2 separate regions of the Homo sapiens genome follow, and region 1 is linked to region 2. The links are contacts of gene promoters, found by promoter capture Hi-C in human tissues and cell types (Jung and others, 2019). All regions are on one chromosome and are shown on one strand. The core of a region is centred on a gene start or on the middle of the fragment in contact, and the rest is flanking DNA. Distances in the headings are between cores, read along the strand shown. Region 1 has its middle 36 kb from the start of LINC02252. Region 2 holds the start of ACTC1 (actin alpha cardiac muscle 1).

The links. The method cuts DNA at HindIII sites, captures the fragments that hold promoters and counts their contacts. A contact is called where the count stands out against the background at its distance.
Region 1: a contact is called between a fragment that was not itself captured here and the fragment with the promoter of ACTC1 in region 2, in 2 of the 25 tissues and cell types used here (IMR-90 fibroblasts and bladder).

Annotation. Positions count from the first base shown.
Region 1 is chr15:34,617,367-34,622,675 of GRCh38, forward strand. No RefSeq gene overlaps it. Among named protein-coding and RNA genes, the nearest start is that of LINC02252, 36 kb to the right of the region's middle. The HindIII fragment of the contact is 5,582 bases long and covers 1-5,309 here.
Region 2 is chr15:34,793,960-34,798,991 of GRCh38, forward strand. It overlaps ACTC1 (actin alpha cardiac muscle 1), which reads right to left and starts at 1,590. Exons shown (of 7, transcript NM_005159.5): 1 at 1,547-1,590; 2 at 721-871. The coding sequence starts at 849. The region is part of intron 2 of GJD2-DT (GJD2 divergent transcript); the gene reads left to right. RefSeq lists an enhancer at 2,737-3,208. The HindIII fragment of the contact is 17,333 bases long and covers 1-5,032 here.

The sequences.
Region 1 (5,309 bases), core at 1,296-3,795, 180 kb before region 2:
GTGGAATCTACAATAATGTCCAATTTGTCCTCTTCTAATTCCAGTCCAGCATTTTTCTAGTACATATTCATTTTTGTTTGGTATATTCTTCAGTATTCCACAGTTTCCTGCATTGAGTTTTTATTCTGTAGTTACTTCCCTCTCTCAGCATTTTCATCCTATTCACCAGCAGAGAAAGAGGGTAGCTTTCTCGATTTCTGTTAATCTTTATCACCAATCACTTGACTGTAGTAGTAACATAAACCTCAATAGCAGAAATGAAGACAACATTTGAAAACTCAGAAAGCTCTCGCTTTTTCTACCTTCTGACCCAGTTTGCAAGAGTATATTGGTAAAAATATCTTGACATCTTTGGAATGCTGTCAAGAAACACAGAGCCCAAATGAAGTCTATATTCATTGTCTCTCACATACATTTTGCCTGTTAAAAATACATTTTGTGCAGTTTAAACCCAAAGTGTCACAGAAGTACTACATTTCTGTGACTTGAAATTCCAAAGTGAGACATTTCAATCTTCTTTAAGCTGGAAACAATTCTTATACTTGTCACCTCTTGTAGTTTATACAGGTCTCTTTTGATCCTCTTGCAGTTACTTGCTGAATATTGAAAGGGGCCTTTTTGACAAATATAAAACAGGGTTTATGTGTGCATGTTTACTTTTATAATTTTTATTTGTTGCTAGGTCCAAGAAGTCTTTTTCTCCCCTTGGCATTACTTTGATGCACCTGTTATGATCCTGCTGAAAGCTCTCTTGCTTCTTTGGAGCCCTGAGAGGAGCTTTGTAACTTTGACATTTTCACTAGCTTTTGACTAGCTGCTAAGATTTCGGCTGCTGTGGTGCAGTACAGAGGCAGCCATGTATTGGGCTGCCAAGTCTCAAACTCTTGTTTGAGAACCTCCAGACCTCACTAAAGAGGATCTGCAGAACAGAACTGTATTCTTTCACAAGGTGGTTGGTGCCAAGGCCGGGTTGGTCTTTGACAGAGCAGAAGCCAGGATGATCAATATCAGAAGCATCCTCACACATGGTTTTCAGGTCAGAAGCTGGGGTTAGGGATGAATTTTGCCAAGTATTGGATATAATGGGGGATATTTAGAAAAGGTGCCAGGCATTGAACTGATTCAAATTTCTCCCAGTATCTACTGTTTTTGTAAAAGCAAGAAATTTTGCATTGGAAATAACCTAATTAGTTTAGAAAACCAAATAAATAAGAAAATAAGCATAGCATTTTTAAAGGCTTAGCTATTTAAGCATTTAAAATACTTTCTCTCACAAAAGTTAAACCCTGTTCATGTGTACACTGGTTTTGATAAGATAATATTTAGACTGATGTTGGATTATCTTAACTGAAAGTTTTAATATAGCTTTCAGGGATACTTCATGTACTCTTGAAACTATATCACATATATTTGTATTTATATGTATGTCTGTTGATGTTTCTCTCTGTATACGTAGATACATATCCATATCTAGCTAGCTAGCTCCCATTTGCAGGTTTTGTATATTTAGTTCCAACAGCATAGAAGGGGAAAAGGAACCTAAGACCATAATATTCAGTAGTTTTACAAGCAGGATATTAAAATTCATTTGCAAGTTCTTAGTGGAATTCAGTAGCTTTTGATTATATGTATTCTACTGCAACTTTTTTTTTTTTTTTTGAAATGGAGTTTCACTCTTGTCACCCAGGCTGGAGTGCAATGGCGCAATCTCAGCTCACTGATACCTCCGCCTCCCGGGTTCAAGTGATTCTCCTGTTTCAGCCTCCTGAGTAGCTGGGATTACAGGCACCCGCCACCACGCCCGGCTAATTTTCATATTTTTTATAGAGATGGGGTTTCACCATGTTAGCCAGGCTGGTCTTGAACTCCTGACCTCAGGTGATCCGCCCACCTCAGCCTCCCGAAGTGCTGGGATTACCAGCATGAGCCACCGCACCCAGCCACAACTTAATTTTTTAACTGAATGCTGTTATATATGAGGGTAGCAAACACCTGCGGTCAAGTTTCTCTGGGCCATTTGGAATATTTCAAGAACATTATAGACATAACTTGCATTCCAATTGTTTAAAGAACTGTATGAGTCTGAATGTGGAAATTAACCATTGTTTTCAATGCTAATTTTACAAGACCAATAAGCCTGCAATAGAATGACTAGGAAGGCTACTACCTTCATTAAAGAAAGAAGCTGAATGTGGTGGCTCACACCTCTAATCCCAGCATTTTGGGAGGCCAAAGCGGGAGGATCACTTGAAGCCAGGAATTTGAAACTAGCCTGGGCAATGCAGTGAAACTCCATCTCTACAACAAAAATATGAAAAATTAGCCAGTCCTGGTGGTGCACACCTGTAGTCCCAGCTACTCAGGAGTCCTGAACCCAGGAGGTCGAGACTGTAGTGAGCCATGATTGCACCACTGCACTCCAGCCTGGAAGACAAAGTAAAGTCAGAGACCACAGCCAACCAGAGCACGCATTGCTCTTGGTGGATAAGTGAGGCAAAGCAATTTATACTGTTTACTCCTCTATTTTCCTCTCTTTCCTTGAATTCTTCTAACATTTGTATTTTTATAGCATTGTATCCACAAAATAATGATATCGATGGTGTGGTAGTGTGCTGCTCCACAGGCACATAAATCATCTGACTCAAAGAAATGAAAATCTGGACATTATGATTCCTTAGTGAGCATGATGTGATGTATCCTCCCTCCAGCTGCTGTCAATGACACCACCAGGCTCAGCTCCGGCTCCTCCGGTGCCTCCACACCATAAATGAGACTCAGTTTCTCACTTAAGACTAAAACAGTGCTTCTGTCTAGATCTGTGTTTTTCTACCATTTCAGTTTAGTTTCCACGTACATAAAATTCATTTTTTCATGAGTTAGACATATTTTATTTTTCCTAAAAGCAAGTAATTCAAATGAAACCACCTCTTTCTCCACTTCCTTCTTTGTTTGTCTACTTCTTCTTCCTTCCCTCATGCCACTCCTCCCTCCCACTTCCTCTACTTCCCCTGGAACATCATGAAACACTGTGCTTGCTGATATATTGTATTTGGTTATGTTAGGAGAGCAAAGGAGTATAACATATTGTTCCATTCCCTGGGAAGCTTACCTAGCTAGATAATATTACAAAATTTTAAGTGTTCTGATCCTCAGAAAGATGAGAGGGAGAGATCAGTAAGGCCTAGGTTAGCAAGGACAGGCTTCATTTAATAAATATTTAATGATGATTTACTGTGTGTAATTTATTTGCATGTTGACTGCCCTGCCTCCCAACCCCTCACCGTTCTGCTACTGTAAGCTCTTCATGTGCAAGTATTGTGTTTGTTTTTTCCAAAATTGTATACTGTCTACCTGTGATACTCAAGGTGGGCACTGGAAAGTATTGTTGAGTGAATGCATAAAAGAATGGCAATTGGAGAATTCTAGGTTTTGCTTCTTTCTTTCAAGGAGATGGTACTTCCGTAGGGAAGCATCACAGGAAGAATGTGATGGATTTGCTTTCAGGGAGGGAAAGGATGCACTCAGTTGGGGTCACTCATTGCTGTTTCCTATTTTGTCTAGTTTAAGAAAGGATGAATTCACCCAGCATTGAAATCAAGTGAAAGGTAATTTACTACTTAGTCATTTATGTGTTTTTATCCCAGCATCCAGCTGTTTCCTGGATCATATTTTATTACAGTTTTTATTTATAGTATGTCTTTGCAAGAAAAACATCCGGTGCAGCAGGGCTTAGCAGTTGGTGTGTAATAATGTGTATTTTAAAGCTACATAGAAGACACTTTTTGCAAGTTTCCCTAGAACAGTGAGAGTATCAAATCCCCTTCCCCATTTTTAAAGCTGTGAAGGATTTCCCTTGAGATTTATGGCTTTAGTACAATGGAAAGTGGATTAGACTTGAGGTTAGTGATCACATGTCTGAATCTTCACCCTATCACTTCTTAGCAGTGTGGACTTGGTAAATTAATTAACCTGCGTATGGCTCAGTTAAAACTTGCCTCACAAGTGAGAAGGCGTGAGAGTTAAAGGAAAAAAGATGTCAAGTGTCTGTACTAAGAACATGTATTTTTCTTTTTCCATCTCTCCAGTATAAACAATTTTTGTTCTGGAAGTCTATTATTGCAACTTAGGAAGTAATTTAAATTATTTCATCGGTGTTAATTCTGAATTTTAGCTTCATTTTAAACACTTTGTAGGAATGCCCATATCATATACCTAGTCCATTTTATTTTGTGATTTCTCCAAAACACCAAAATGCAATGCCAGCTCTCAACATATTGTTCTGTCTTTCGACAGGGATTAGAACTCTCTTGGATTATAAATGCATGGATTGCACAGAACATTTTCATGGTACATAATGGGAATGAATTGTTCTTCAAACTTATTTTAGTCCAAAAAAGAACAAATGTTACAAAAGAATCAGGATAATAGCTACATTTTTTGGAATCCTTCCTTATAGCATTTATTTTCAGTTCTTTCAGAGAAGCTCATGGAAATGCGCAGTCATGTCTGTAGATGGCATTCTTGTACCGGATGAAATAAAATGGTAATTAAGTATGCGAGATCTTTCCCAGAACAGTCAACCTGTTTAGTGTTAAGTGCATGCTTAACAATCCATGATACCCATTTTTGGAATTAGGAAATAATGCGTGGGAAGTCGAGATGTATTTTTGGGAAAAAAATAGAGATCAAATACAAACTGATGGGTTCTATAATAATTGTGGTTTTTTTTTTTTAAAGTGTCTTAGAGGAGAAAAGTTGAAAAAGGGTCAAGATGAAAGGCTTCACTTTTATTTTCTGGAAGCGTTTAATTAAACCATAGAGGACCACAACTAATAGGACTGTGGACTGGTCAATGTCAGCCCTAAGCCACCCCAAAATAAAATTCTGCAATATCCCCCATTCCTTTAACATACCTTGTGTGATAAAGAACTTTTTATACATTTTTTTTATTTCTTTATGATTAGCTTTTTCCTGGTTTATGTAAACTGTTCACATATTTTTTCTTTCCTTTTTTTTCTTGAAAAAAAAAACAACAACTGTAATTGGATTTTTGTGTTTCTAATCCTGGCCAGGGTACTAATATTTTGTTGTCGTATATATTTTTGTAGTTTATGAAACATTAAGAAAAATTTCACCTAAAAGGGTGTTTTAATAGTCTGATTATTGGAATAAATTATTGGGATAAAAGTGCACTCTTGTCCTGGAAACTGGCATCTGGGGAACAGCATTACCTACCACATATGATCTAAGACATGTATATGTTGTTTATTCTAAGTTGCCGTTGGTACAAAGAGATTTGAAAACAAGCA
Region 2 (5,032 bases), core at 340-2,839:
AAAGATTTTGACATTCAAGTGAACACATAATGATGGGCTGATATGCCATCCTCACTCCAACAGTGAAATTCAGCCTGTCCAGAGCTGTTCTGGAGTCATTCACCAGCTCTGAGGACTAAGCTCTCCTGCTTGGCAGCCTGTCTGGCCAGGCATGTGACAAACCCAGAGAGCATGGCATGTCTTTTAACAAACGAGGTGGTATGTCACTATCACCATGGCACTTGCTGCCTCTGTCACGCCTGGCTTCTAAAAATGCAACAGCCAGGAAGGAGATAGATTGATTACACCTTTGGGGAACCCTGTAAACTGGCTGTGAACATGAGAGAGGAATGTGGATTTGGTCCTGGTTGGTTGGGAGAGGTGATATTGTTAGAAGTTTTAAACAGGACTGAAAAGAGAGGACAAGGAAGAAAATGAAGTGTATAAGGCAGAGAAGACACTAAAGACTAAAAGTCCAAAAGGCCATTAGTGGAGAGAAGCAGGTGGCTTTCACACCAGGGAGTGGGACCCTTTTAGAGGCGTGCCACTCAGGTGTACATTCCTCAGTATGTTGGGGTTTTGTGGAGTATTGCTTGCCTTGGCTTGGATTTGAAGTCAATCAGCCTTCTCTTAATTTGGCCTAAAGAGTTCATCGAACAAGAGGGTCAGGTGAGAGCCATTTCCTAGATCGCTGGACTGAAGGGGTCCCGAGTGGGACGGGGGGCTCGGCGGGAAGTTTACCTGGTGCCGCGGGCGGCCCACGATGGACGGGAAGACAGCGCGGGGCGCGTCATCGCCCGCAAAGCCGGCCTTCACCAGCCCAGAGCCGTTGTCGCACACCAGGGCGGTGGTCTCCTCGTCGTCACACATCTTGGCACAGCTTCAGGGGGTTCTGCAGGTTGAGGAGGGGAGGGCGGACCACGCTTAGCTGCCTGTGCAGCTGGCCTTCTCCGCACCCAGAGGACAGGACAGAGCAGAAGGGGGTTGTGGGGACTGGACAGGGGGTTGGGCGGGGAACACTCCTGCCACCTCCCTTCCCCTCGAATCATAAAAGGGAGGGAAGAAGCCGCGGAGGAGACTGGGGACAGAGAAGGGCAGAGGAATCCACCCAGGCTCCCTGGCCAGGAGTTCCAGCTAGGGTGCCAGGTGCAAGGAGGGACCCAAGAAACCCAGCCCCTTAGTCCTCCCCAGCCCTTTAACTTTCTTCCTTTTCACGAACTGGGAACTCGATCTCCAGCCCTGTCCATATCGCCATGCCTGTGCCCCAGATGGAGGGGAAAGCGCACGAGAGTAGGGACCCAAAAGCCCCTTGGGGAGCCACAAAATTCCCCTTCTTAGAGCCCCTGCGAGGTCCTGCGAGGACCAACGCCCAGGACAAAACAAGTTAGAACCAAATCAAAAAGTGTGGGCTTTAAAAAAAAAAAAAAAAAGGCAGTCGCAGAGCGGCAGGAGCTGGGGCCTTGGCTGAATGCGGGCCGGGCTGGCCAGGTGGCGGCGCGGGGCTGGCGTCCGGCGCGGCCCGCGGACCAGGCGAGGAGTGAACGCGGAGGGCCGGGCGCTGACTCACCGTCGGCGGGGCGGGTCGGCTCGGCTCCGGCGGCAGCGGGCTCTGGGTGGCTGGCTCCAGGAGGGCCGCTTTATAGAACGCTGATGGACAGGGTCAGTTGGAGCAGCCGGGGGCAGGGGTGGGGGGCCCGGTCTGCCACCTTGCCTTATTTGGTCCCCTTCGCACCCGCTAGGACTGCCGAGGCCATTCATGGAGCCAAGGGCAGGGGAGAGGATCAGCCAGGGAGCCCCCAGACCATGTAAGGAAGGGGAGGGGGCAGTCAGGGGGATGGCCAAATAGGGAGCTGGGGAGGGGCAGGCGCTGAAGGGTAGGGGGCAGGGGAAGACTAAGTGACGCCAGCCCACCCCTCCCCCTTTCTGGGGTGTGGGTGCTCCCTGGATGGTCTGTGGATTCGGTCCTCCGCAGCCCTGCCAGCCTTGGGGACAATAAGCCACATGCAGTGGGAAGGCTTGGCGCCCTGCCCTCTGCTGAGGGGTCCTGACAGCTGGGCCAGGGCAGCAGGGGAGCAACAGCGGCTTCTCATCTTCCAGGGCTGCCACCAGCACAAAGGACACCGCAGCAGCACATCTGAGTGGCTGCAAAAGGGGCACCCAGGACAGGGCACCCTTCTGGTCTAGTCCCCGCCAGCCTGAATGGCTTTACTCAGAGAGCTGGTGCTGGGCTCATCTAGGTCAGAAAGCTGAGATTAACCAAGGCCACCCGAGTTCCAACCCATGCATGGATCAGGGTCTGGCCAGGGAAGAGTCAGAAAAGGGTTTCTGTGAGAGCTTGGCCAAGTCTTGCTGGAGAAGGGACCAGGTTTACCCCAGCCCAGTTATTGGGTAGCCCTCATCCATGCTGCAGGGTTTTGCTCAAATTCAGACTCTGGTCTTCAGGCCAGAAAAGGATCCCCTGCTGCCAAAGTGAATAAAGGAACAAATGCCAAAAGTAGCTTGCCCACTTGATGGTGGGGAGATGAGCATCTTTAAACTGGGGGCAGAGGCCCTCACTCCAGGTGGAGACAAGACTGCAAAGGCAAATACTTTGATGGAGAACATAGCAACAACTTAAACTATAGGACTACACCAATCCTTGCTACTCAAAGTGCAGCCCATGGACAAGCAGTATTGTCATAACCTGGAAATGAGCTAGAAATGCAATCTCAAGAGCCATCCCAATCCGCTTTTCAGCAAGATCCTCATTTGCTTGGTATGTACATTAAAGTGTGAGAAGCATTGGCATAAATGACAGATATCATCTCCTCTGTGGAAAACAGATTTTGCAGGATCTTGAACTTTTGAGAAGGAAAAAGAAAAATGACATGAAATGAGGAGAGGGAGAAGGAAGAGGGAGATGTAAGAAGGACACAGATCACTAGTTTGCCCTGGGGTGCCCTGCATTCTCAGTTCTTGACTGGAGCTTTGATTTTTAATGCTTGTGTTTTTCCTCCAGTTCACACCAGTTAAAAATAGAAAACTGGGCACTGGCATCTCTCTCTAGAGTGGTCTTGGGCTGATATGCTGAGGAGGCCTGCTGATTAGATACTTGTCCCGACTGGGGAATGCTGGGCCCTCCCCTCTGAACTCCCCAACCATGTTTGGGTTGGTCTGGAGAAGAAACGCGATGGGCAGCTGTGTGGTGGGGTCGGGTAAGAGACCTGGCTGAGATTACTCTGTGCAGCACAGCAGGCATTTTACAGTGAAAATGTTTATTGACAGGATGCCAAGAGTAGAACTGCCTTGTCTCGTGAAAATATAGAAAAACCAAGGAAAAGGAGAAATGGGACTGGTGTCAGAGCCAGACAGAACTGGGCTCAAATGCTGCCTTTATCACTTACTAACTATCTGTTTGGTCTTGAGCAAGACACTTAACCTTCCCAAGCCCCAAGTTTTCCCTCTCAAAAGTGATACCATAACACTTGTTGCAGAAGTTATTGTGTATTGTAATAGTTAGAAACAAATGCTGTAAGTAATATGGAAGATACAAAGCAAATTGTATGTGTAATAATGATACTTTTGGAGGCAGTAGTAGCTCTGCCTTTTAAAGAATCAGGTTGATTTCATTCTTCATTGATTCAGCAAATCTTTGCAGGACAAGAACTGTGCTAGTTAAGGATTCAGTGATAAATAAAACAGAGCAGGACTCATCCTCCGTGGCAATTACAGAAAAGTCAGACAGCTATGGCACAAACTGGGAGGGAAGAAGAGGTATCAGCAGGATAGTCACAAAAAGGGAATGGAGGTCTGAAAGAGTTGCCGAGAAAGCCTTCCCCAGGATGTGTTGTTCGTTTTTAAAAGTAGAGCAGAACTGAAGTTTATGAACATTTGTGTGAGAGAAAGAGTTTCTGCATGGGAGTGGCTGGTGAGAGACTCCCACTATGACTGCTATAGGTGCAAAGACTCTCAGGAATGGAAAACCATGATTATTGACCTTTGTCCTTCGCACAGGCTTCGGGGATCTAGGAGGCCACTTCCAGCCCCCTCATCTCAGGACCATTGGCTCTAGTGGGAGGCCAGTAGAACAGTGCAGGACACAACAGCAGTTTTGTGAAACAATATTCACCCTTAAAATGTTTGAAAAATGTGTTTCCTATTCCGCTCAATTTCATTGCCTAACACTCAAAACAGTGTATTTTCATATGTGTTATGTGTGTAGCAAGAACGAATGCTTATTTCTTAAAAATTTATGATTGTTTGATATTTACTATTTGTATTACCACTCAATTTCCACATTTTATTTATTTTATTTTTATGTATTTGTTTGTTTGCTTCAGACAGGGTCTCCCTCTGTTACCCAGGTATAATCAGGTGCGGTGGTATAATCAGGGCTCACTGCAGCCTCAACCTCCCAGGCTCAGGTGATCCTCCCACCTTAGCCGATTCTCCCACCTTAGCTGATCCTCCCATCTCAGCCTCCCAAACAGCTGGGACTGCAGGCACATGCCAACACACCCCGCTAATTTTTGTATTTTTTGAAGAGACGGGGTTTCACTATGTTGCCTAAGCTGGTCTCAAGCTCCTGGGCTCAACTGATCTGCCAGCCTCAGCTTCCCAAAGTGCTGGGATTACAGGCATGAGCCACCAAGCCTGGCCTTGATTTCCACATTTTAAAAACTTTGAACCCTATTTTATATATTTTAAAATGTAAACCAACAGGAAAGTAAGATTTCATGACTGAGTTTTATTTAAACTACTTTTTACAGATCCACTTAATTTGAAAATTGAGATTGGCTTTTTAAGCATATAAAAATGACATCTCAAAAAAAATTACAAAACAAAGAAGAAAAAAATGACATCTCCTCTTTGGTACATTCTAGATTTTTTTTTAATTATGGTAAAATATGCATATATCAAATTTACTATCTTAACCATTTAGGAATACAGAGTTCAAAAGTGTTCAGTGCATTCACATTGTTGTGCAGTCTCCGAGTGTTATTTTTTTTATTGCTAATTGTGACTAAATTGTGCTTCCTGCAGTTTGAGAAAGACCAGTTTATATCCTATGAGG